Linked DNA regions of Homo sapiens: region 1 is linked to region 2. Evidence: promoter capture Hi-C in human tissues and cell types (Jung and others, 2019). All regions are on one chromosome and are shown on one strand. The core of a region is centred on a gene start or on the middle of the fragment in contact, and the rest is flanking DNA. Distances in the headings are between cores, read along the strand shown.

The links. Contacts are between HindIII fragments. The study calls those that stand out against the background at their distance.
Region 1: a fragment that was not itself captured here is called in contact with the fragment with the promoter of HCAR3 in region 2 in 1 of the 25 tissues and cell types used here (mesenchymal stem cells).

The regions. Positions count from the first base shown.
Region 1 is chr12:123,225,097-123,230,268 of GRCh38, reverse strand. MPHOSPH9 (M-phase phosphoprotein 9) reads left to right here. Exons shown (of 24, transcript NM_022782.4): 2 at 1-8; 3 at 2,653-2,806. Among named protein-coding and RNA genes, the nearest start is that of MPHOSPH9, 5.5 kb to the left of the region's middle. The HindIII fragment of the contact is 6,998 bases long and covers 1-5,172 here.
Region 2 is chr12:122,714,196-122,719,233 of GRCh38, reverse strand. HCAR3 (hydroxycarboxylic acid receptor 3) reads left to right here and starts at 2,423. Exons shown (of 1, transcript NM_006018.3): 1 at 2,423-4,478. The coding sequence starts at 2,497. The coding sequence ends at 3,660. The HindIII fragment of the contact is 11,637 bases long and covers 1-5,038 here.

The sequences.
Region 1 (5,172 bases), core at 1,909-4,408, 510 kb before region 2:
ACTGATAGGTAAGAATGGGATTTAAAAAAAATGTACCAAATCAGAATAACCTTATTTGCATACGTTTATCAACTTATCCAAATAGTGTCATAGTTACTGATTTGAATTATTATTATTTTTTAACCTATCATCAAGAATGTTCAGGGAGGCTGGGCGCGGTGGCTCATGCCTGTAATCCCAGCACCTTGGTAGGCTGAGGCGGGTGGATCACCTGAGGCCAGGAGTTGGAGACCAGCCTGGCTAACATGGTGAAGCCTCGTCTCTACTAAAAATACAAAAATTAGCCAGGTGTGGTGGCACGCGCCTGTAGTCCCAGCTACTCAGGAGGCTGAGGCAGGAGAATTGCTGGAACCTGGGAGGCAGAGGTTGCAATGAGCCAAGATTGCGCCACTGCACTCCAGCCTGGGCGACAGAGCGACACTCTGTCTCAAAAAAAAAAAAAAAAAATGTTCGGGGACAGATGTTTAAGTCAGGAATAGGTTTGGTCTTTTCATGTTTCTCATTTCTCTCAGAGATATGTACTTTTGCATGGAAAGCATTCTGAAAAAGAACTTGTTTTGCTTGTTTTACTTTCCTTTATACTTTTTTGTTTGTTTTTGGTAAATTACAAGCATATCTTTAACATTTAGTTGCCTAAATATTATTTCTACATTTTTAAATGATTGGGACAATTGATGTTTTATGTTGCAGAAATACTTCACCAATGTGGGAAGTAGCAGTTAAAGTTGAGTATTAGGAAGTTAAGACAATAACAGACTCTAAGTAGACAAAATAGTGGACTAAATAGATGTTATCAAAGTGTGTTTTATGCATTTTATTAATTTTTTAAAATGCATTTTATTTTTAAGCTATCCTGTGATTGGTTTTTTATTTTTTAATGGTCTTAACACAGATCATGGTTTGTTTTTCATCAGAGCCTGTTTACTTTCAATTTGCACATAGTCTGACAAGCTTGGTTATTGGGTTTCTAAATTTATAGTAGTGTAGAAACAGCAAAGAGGCAAGGACTGTAAGAGAGGAGAGCATCTATAAAGAGCGGGTACAAGGAAGGAAAACAGCGGTTTTGGGGCCTTACTGGTAAAGGGGCAAGGAGCTTTAAACACGGTAGGTCTTGAAGAAATTGTGTATTATAAATAAATACATTACTTTAAAAGTTGTTAATTCTCTGCCCTTTTCAGGAGGAATTTAAGGCAGCTTACATGGGTATATAAAACAATGGGGGTGGGGAGTTGTAAAAAACAAAGGAATATGTGAAATAAAACGAGAAAAGGAAATTTTAAAAGGCACAGGAAATGGTCCTACAGTAATCTGTATGCACTTGCAGAAAGTTGGCCACGCATTTTGGTTCTTGTATTACTTGGTGGTCCCTTTAAAGTACACTTCTAGAAGATATTCCTGTTAGAACAGTGTTTGATTTGGCTGGAGGAAGCTAACTGTGCCTTGCTAGTGAAAATTAGGCAATTAAACTTGTCTTCCTTTTCATTGTGACTGGCAGTTAAATTGGCCACATTTAAACTTGATTATTACAGCTATGTAAAATCCTTTACTGATAACATATATTCTTTCCTTTGAATTTTTTTTTTTGACGGAGTCTTGCTCTGTCACTAGGCTGGGGTGCAGTGGTGCCATCTCAGCTCATTGCGATCTCCGTGTCCTGGGTTCAAGGGATTCCCCTGCCTCAGCCTCCTGATTGGCTGGGACTACAGGCACGCACTACCACACCCGGCTAATTTTTTGTATTTTAGTAGAGATGGTGTTTCACCATGTTGGCCAGGACAGTCTTGATCTCCTGACCTGGTGATCCGCCCGCCTTGGCCTCCCAAAGTGCTGGGATTACAGGCGTGAGCCACTGCGCCTGGCCTCCTTTGAATTTTTAGTAATATTTTCACTGGTCCTAACTATTATTTTATTGTTATTTTTATTTATTTTTTTAAACAAATTATTTGTGAAAGAAAGCAGGATATCAAGCAGTAAATAAATTAAAATGATCTTTTGGTGACTAGATTTTAAGTACATTTTAATGTCCTGAAATATATTGTGTGTTTATAAAACAAATCCGAAATAACTTACCTGAAGTTTGGAAAAGCAGTACTCCTGGAAAAACTCAGTGCTGTTTTACACACTGAGTAGGCTAAATAAGTCCTGAATATTTGCTGCTGATTTGCTTGGCACAACTTTTATGCAGAGATAGTGCAGAGATAAGCATCAGCTTATCGTACCAAATTAAGGGTGTCCAGTGAACAAGATTTGACTGTCATTTGGGGCAGTGGGGAAAGAATCCCCACTGCACAATGAAGGGCTGTTCTGAAAGTTGGGGGAAATAATCCTCTGGAATAGCTGAGATCAGAGAAGCTGGAAATTAATCTTATTGTTTAGCACAGACTTTTTCTATTTTCTGCCGATCCTTTGGAGTGTTCTCTCACTTCTGGAGAAGGTCTTCTTGTTGTGTTCTTAAAAAGAGTACAGTGCGGTCTTTTTACTGGCCGTTTCCTTTTGTGGAGCAACTTGTGATCAGATTTTGAACAAATGAGGTGCCATTAGAAGGATTAAATGTCAGTGGTTTTGTACTGCTCTGCTAAATCTTGAACTGCTGAATTATTCAACACTTTGATAGAATGAAGAAAACCATTTGAATTATTTATGTTTCAACAGAAGTAGTCCCCACCTTAGTACAAATGGGGTATCCTCTTTCTCAGGGAAGACCAGACCATCTGTAATTCAAGGTACAGTTGAAGTCCTAACTTCTTTAATGCAAGAGCTACAAAACAGTGGAAAGACTGATTCGGAACTTTGGAAAAACTGTGAGGTATCTAATTTTGTTTTATTTTTGGAATTTTAAAATAATTATGTTAAAACATACCTCTACTAAACTCTAAATTATTAGAAATTTATGTCCTGAAGAGCATGACACTTTTAAGTTAATGCTAAAGTGGTCAAGTATATTAATTTGGGAATGATATTGAATGAATGGGAAAAAGGTGATCAAAAGTATTTTTTAACAATATATTACTGATTAGACATACTAATTTGTATATTAAATATGAACTAAAACATTGTCTTGGTTCAGAGACCTGAGAATCCCAAAATTATTAAAATTGTTACTAATTGTAATGTTGTCAGTAACTTATATGGAATTGTCATCATTTTGAAAAACCTAAATCCACTTTGAAATATTTTCAATGTTCTAATTATAAATTGAAGCTTCTATTTAGTACCTTACCATATTCAGCTGTGATACATTGCATTATATTGTTTTCAGATCAGTGGTTCTTTCTTTGGTTCATAGGTTAAATTGTGATATAAAAATGTAACAGTTAAAAGAATACTTACATGGCCGAGCACAGTGGCTCACGCCTGTAATCCCAGCACTTTAGGCGGCCAAGGTGGGAGGTTTGGTTGAGGCCAGGAGTTTGAGACTAGCCTGGGCAAGATAGCGAGACCCTGTCTCTACAAATATAAATACATAAATAAATTAGCTGGTCATGGTGGCACGGTGTCTGTAGTCCTAGCTACTTGGGAGGCTGATGTGGGAGGATCACTTCAACCCAGGAAGTCAGGGTTGCAGTGAGCTATGATCACAGCACTACACTCCAGCCTGGGTGACAGACTGAGACCCTGTCTCTCTCTATATATAAAAAAAGAGAACCTGTAATCCCAGCACTTGAGGCAGAGGTGGATAGCTTGTGCCCAGAGTTTGTGACCTGCTTGGGCAACATAGCAAGACCCCCTCAGTAAAAAAAAAAAAAAGTATATATAAATTTTATTTCATAGGATAATGCTCAAGATAGACTTTCCTAAGGCTGGATTTGATAGTTTTTTATAGAAATGTTTAAACCATTATTAATTCTTAGAAAGCACTAGATCTTGTTTTAAACGTTAATTGTACTTTTAGAAGCATAATTTGTGTTATTTTTCAGAATGTAGAGTAAGCGAAATGAAAGATTACCTGGTTTAAGAATTCGATAGCAGCAACTGCTAAGTGTAATTATTTATATCCATTATCCATAATTATTGAAATTATAAAAAAGTATTATTATATGCTTAAAAAATTGAGTTTTCAGTTTTTATACTTTATGCTTGTTTGCATATAATAATCAGTATGCACTAACGTGAAAGACCTTTAAAAATGCCCATGCAAATGCAATTAAAAATGGAATGTTTTATTAAGTATATTAAATGCTTCCCTTAATGTATCTACTCATAAGCTTTTTGTTTATTTGTTTGTTTGTTTTTGAGACAGAGTCTTGCTCTGTTGCCCAGGCTGGAGTGCTATGGTGCGATCTCGGCTCACTGCCACCACTGCCTCCCAGGTTCAAGTGATTCTCCTGCCTCAGTCTCCCGAGTAGCTGAGATCACAGGCGAGCGCCACCATGCCCAGCTAATTCTTGTATTTTTAGTAGAGAAGGGGTTTAGCCATGTTGGCCAGGCTGGTCTCGAACTCCTGACCTCAGGTAATCTGCCTGATTTGGCTTCCCAAAGTGCTGGGATTACAGGCATGAGCCACCGTGGCTAGCCCTTATTAGCTTTTGATAACTGAATTAACATGCTTTAGGACAAAGGAGGCATTGCCACAATGTATTTTAACTTCTGGAAAATTTGTGTTTAACTAGAAATTGTTACTTTTGATAATTAGAAATCAACCTTTTTTTTTTGACATTAGCATCTTAAGTCAGAATCAGAATATATTCCCTGCCCCACCTCTCCTCTCCCCTCCCTCCCACCCCCTCCCTCCCTCCCTTCCTTTCTTCCTTCCTTCCTTTTCTTTGTTTCTTTTTCTCCTCTTTCATTCTCTCTCTTTTCTTTCTTTCTTTTTTTTTTTTTTTTTGAAATAGGGTCTCATTCTGTCATCCAGGCTGGAGTACAGTGGCACAATCTCTGTTCACTGTACCTTCAACCTCTTGGGCTCAAGCCATCCTCCCACCTCAGCTTCCCAAGTAGCTGGGACTACAGGTGCACACCACCATGCCCAGCTAATTTTTGCATTTTTTGTTGAGACAAGGTTTTGCTATGTTGCCCAGGTTAGTCTTGAACTCATGAACTCAAATGATCCACCCACCTTGGCCTCCCAAACTGCTAGAATTACAGGCATGAGCCGCTGTGCCCAGCCTCTGAGCTCTGTTTTTATAACAGCTTTCAAAATAACATCAATTTATATTATCCTGAAATGAAATT
Region 2 (5,038 bases), core at 1,174-3,673:
ACAAGCAACTATAAAAGCACTGAGCTCCTGGCTAACATGGTGAAACCCCATCTCTACTAAAAATACAAAAAATTAGCTAGGCGTGGTGGCGGGTGCCTGTAGTCCCAGCTACTCGGGAGGCTGAGGCAGCATGGCGTGAACCCAGGAGGCGGGGCTTGCAGTGAGGCGAGAGCGAGACTTTGTCTCAAAAAAAAAAAAGCACTGAGTATGGGTTCCAGCACATGGGAAGCTCTCTATAATGTAGGTGCCACCATCATCTTCATCATTGTCTTCATCTCACCTGGATCATCATCAAGTACTTGTAGTTCTATGGGAACCTAATATTAGGTCATCCTAACTCTAGTTTACTTGAAGACTCTATAAGCTCCTATTATTGAACCTGCGTTTGCAGCTAAAGAAATAAATTGACATCTTATGGCCGGCAGTGATGGTTCACACCTGTAAGCCCAGCACTTTGGGATGCCAAGGCGGGAGGATCACTTGAAGTCAGGAGTTCAAGACCAGCCTGGCCAAAATGGTGAAATCCATCTCTATTAAAAAATACAAAAATTAGCCAGGCACGGTGGCGGGCACCTGTAGTCTCAGCTACTTGGGAGGCTGAGGCAGGAGAATGACTGGAACCCAGGAGGCAGAGGTTGCAGTGAGCCACTGCACTCCAGCCTGGGCGATAGAGTGAAACTCCATCTCAAAAGAAAAAAAAAAAAAAAGGAAGAAATTTACATTATATAACTCAAAGTAGAAGCAACATAGTTTAGAAGTCTCCTGCATGGAAGAATTCATAAGACCAAAATATTAAAGGGAGAAAACATTCTATAGGATGACACCCAATCGCACTGACAAGCAGAGAAACAATGTGTGCAATGGTGTCCCGCTACAAGGCAGGGTTCCATGTCCTCTTAGGTCCTGTCACTCTAAGTTTAATTTTACAAAAATGGGGGCTTTAAAAATATCACATACTTAGTGGGGGAGGTTTTGCGTGTGTGGAGACAGAGTGCACAGGACCGTCCGTACTTTCTGCTCAATTTTGCTGTGAATCTAAAACTGCCCTAAAAAATAAAGTTCATTAAAAAAAAAAAATCACGGCCAGGCGCAGTGGCTCACGCCTGTAATCACAGCACTTTGGGAGACCGAGGCGGGTGGATCACAAGGTCAGGAGTTCGAGACCAGCCTGGCCAACACAGTGAAACCTCGTCTTTACTAAAAATACAAAAAATTAGCTGGGCGTGGTGGCGCACGCCTGTAGTCCCAGATACTCAGGAGGCTGAGGCAGAAGAATTGCTTGAACCTGGGAGGCGGAGGTTGCAGTGAGCTGAGATTGTTCCACCGTTCTCCAGCCTGGGTGACAGAGTGAGACTCTGTCTCAAAAAAAAAAAATCACATCCTAAGGTCCCAAGGACATAAAACAAGTTAGAGACCTCATCCAGTTTTTTGTTTGTTTCAGGGACCTGCAACCAACTTTCTTACTGACCAGTTTCCTGGGCTGTCTAGAACAGACAGCTTATGGGGTACTAACCCCATGCTCTATCCTAAGGTACCCCTCTTCATGCAGAGCGACACAGAAAAACAAATTTGTAGCACAAAGTACACCCGATTTGCTACAGCTTACAACTAGCCTCATGAATCCTTTTCTCATTAATTCAAAGTTTGCAAAAAAAAGAAATCACATACTTAAATCACTTGAGCACAGAAGCATATCAAAATCTAATATAAACAAACAAAAAACCCAACTTATTTTAACATGCCACTGAAACTGGGCTCAAGTTTTCAAACATCTTATGAAATATTACACTCTCCAGCAGGCTTTTTTTTTTTTCCTAACTGGAGATGAATGGCAGAGTTCTGATATGGAAAAGCACTCCATGTTTGTACAGAAAGGTAGCATAGGAAAAGTGGTCAAATTCAACCAGTCTGTCCTCATCAAACAGGCAACTACTGTCTTCTCAGCATTTCCAAAAGAAATCATATGCCTGCTACTGTTTATGTCATATGCCTGTTAATTTTTCATGCTAATTCTTAGTGTTTCTGGAAAACCTCACTGTTTGGCACCAAAAATTATTATTGCTATTGTTGTTGTTTTGTTAATTATGTCAGCCAAGCAGATGACGGTGAATTAATTCTGCAACGTTGAGTACTCAGTTGGCATACAAGCACCCAGCCTTCCAAAGGGATGTCCTTCATGTTTCACTGATTTTCGAATGACAGTCAGCTTGCCTAAACTTATCCTTTACATTTAAGACATTTGGTGGGTTCCTGTATGCCCAGGGGATTTTTATTATTTGTTTATGCAAACAGCAGGTTGCATAAGAGCCTTGCTGGCTTTTTTTTTTTTTTTTTTAGAGATTTCGTAGTTTCCTGATAACCATTCAGTCATCTATTTCAACACCCTGACATGACATAAAGGCAGGCACGGAACCACACGTTCACCATACAGACACACGCCACTTTGCTGGAGCATTCACTAGGCGAGGCGCTCCATCGGACTCACTAGCTGCACTCATGAATCGGCACCATCTGCAGGATCACTTTCTGGAAATAGACAAGAAGAACTGCTGTGTGTTCCGAGATGACTTCATTGCCAAGGTGTTGCCGCCGGTGTTGGGGCTGGAGTTTATCTTTGGGCTTCTGGGCAATGGCCTTGCCCTGTGGATTTTCTGTTTCCACCTCAAGTCCTGGAAATCCAGCCGGATTTTCCTGTTCAACCTGGCAGTAGCTGACTTTCTACTGATCATCTGCCTGCCGTTCGTGATGGACTACTATGTGCGGCGTTCAGACTGGAAGTTTGGGGACATCCCTTGCCGGCTGGTGCTCTTCATGTTTGCCATGAACCGCCAGGGCAGCATCATATTCCTCACGGTGGTGGCGGTAGACAGGTATTTCCGGGTGGTCCATCCCCACCACGCCCTGAACAAGATCTCCAATTGGACAGCAGCCATCATCTCTTGCCTTCTGTGGGGCATCACTGTTGGCCTAACAGTCCACCTCCTGAAGAAGAAGTTGCTGATCCAGAATGGCACTGCAAATGTGTGCATCAGCTTCAGCATCTGCCATACCTTCCGGTGGCACGAAGCTATGTTCCTCCTGGAGTTCTTCCTGCCCCTGGGCATCATCCTGTTCTGCTCAGCCAGAATTATCTGGAGCCTGCGGCAGAGACAAATGGACCGGCATGCCAAGATCAAGAGAGCCATCACCTTCATCATGGTGGTGGCCATCGTCTTTGTCATCTGCTTCCTTCCCAGCGTGGTTGTGCGGATCCACATCTTCTGGCTCCTGCACACTTCGGGCACGCAGAATTGTGAAGTGTACCGCTCGGTGGACCTGGCGTTCTTTATCACTCTCAGCTTCACCTACATGAACAGCATGCTGGACCCCGTGGTGTACTACTTCTCCAGCCCATCCTTTCCCAACTTCTTCTCCACTTTGATCAACCGCTGCCTCCAGAGGAAGATAACAGGTGAGCCAGATAATAACCGCAGCACGAGCGTCGAGCTCACAGGGGACCCCAACAAAACCAGAGGCGCTCCAGAGGCGTTAATCGCCAACTCCGGTGAGCCATGGAGCCCCTCTTATCTGGGCCCAACCTCAAATAACCATTCCAAGAAGGGACATTGTCACCAAGAACCAGCATCTCTGGAGAAACAGTTGGGCTGTTGCATCGAGTAATGTCACTGGACTCGGCCTAAGATTTCCTGGAACTTCCAGATTCAGAGAATCTGATTTAGGGAAACTGTGGCAGATGAGTGGGAGACTGGTTGCAAGGTGTGACCGCAGGAATCCTGGAGGAACAGAGAGTAAAGCTTCTAGGCATCTGAAACTTGCTTCATCTCTGACGCTCGCAGGACTGAAGATGGGCAAATTGTAGGCGTTTCTGCTGAGCAGAGTTGGAGCCAGAGATCTACTTGTGACTTGTTGGCCTTCTTCCCACATCTGCCTCAGACTGGAGGGGGCTCAGCTCCTGGGGTGATATCTAGCCTGCTTGTGAGCTCTAGCAGGGATAAGGAGAGCTGAGATTGGAGGGAATTGTGTTGTTCCTGGAGGAAGCCCAGGCATCATTAAACAAGCCAGTAGGTCACCTGGCTTCCGTGGACCAATTCATCTTTCAGACAATCTTTAGCAGAAATGGACTCAGGGAAGAGACTCACATGCTTTGGTTAGTATCTGTGTTTCCGGTGGGTGTAATAGGGGATTAGCCCCAGAAGGGACTGAGCTAAACAGTGTTATTATGGGAAAGGAAATGGCATTGCTGCTTTCAACCAGCGACTAATGCAATCCATTCCTCTCTTGTTTATAGTAATCTAAGGGTTGAACAGTTAAAACGGCTTCAGGATAGAAAGCTGTTTCCCACCTGTTTGCTTTTACCATTAAAAGGGAAACGTGCCTCTGCCCCACGGGTAGAGGGGTGCACGTTCCTCCTGGTTCCTTCGCTTGTGTTTCTGTACTTACCAAAAATCTACCATTTCAATAAATTTTGATAGGAGACAGTCTGGCGTTGCTATATCTGGGTTATGGTTCACAGAAATGGACTTCTTACTTAAGCAGAGACCTTTATGGGTTGTTAACTTTGTCCTGGTAGAAAACTACTCCACACTGCAAAGTAAGAAAGAGACACAGACACTGAGCTACATCATGAAACAACTAAGCAGAAATTACACCTGTGTCTAAACAAAGATAGAAAGAGCTGGGATTAAAAATAATTTGGAAGGATAGTACAGATAGGATTGCAAGAGCACTTACATTTTATTAGAGTTTGGTGAATATTGCTCTTCATATTTGTGCATTAAAAAGGGAATCAAGGCCAGGTGCAATGGTTCATGCCTGTAATCCCAGCACTTTGGGGGAGCCAAGGCGGGCAGATCACCTGAAGTAAGGAGTTTGAGACCAGCCTGGACAAAATGGTGAAACCCCACTTCTACTAAAAATACAAGAAAAATTAGCCAGGCATGGTGGCGGCCGCTTGTAGTCCCAGCTACTGGGAAGGCTGGGAGAAGAAGAATTGCTTGAACCCGGGAGGCGGAGGTTGCAGTGAGCCGAGGTGGTGTGC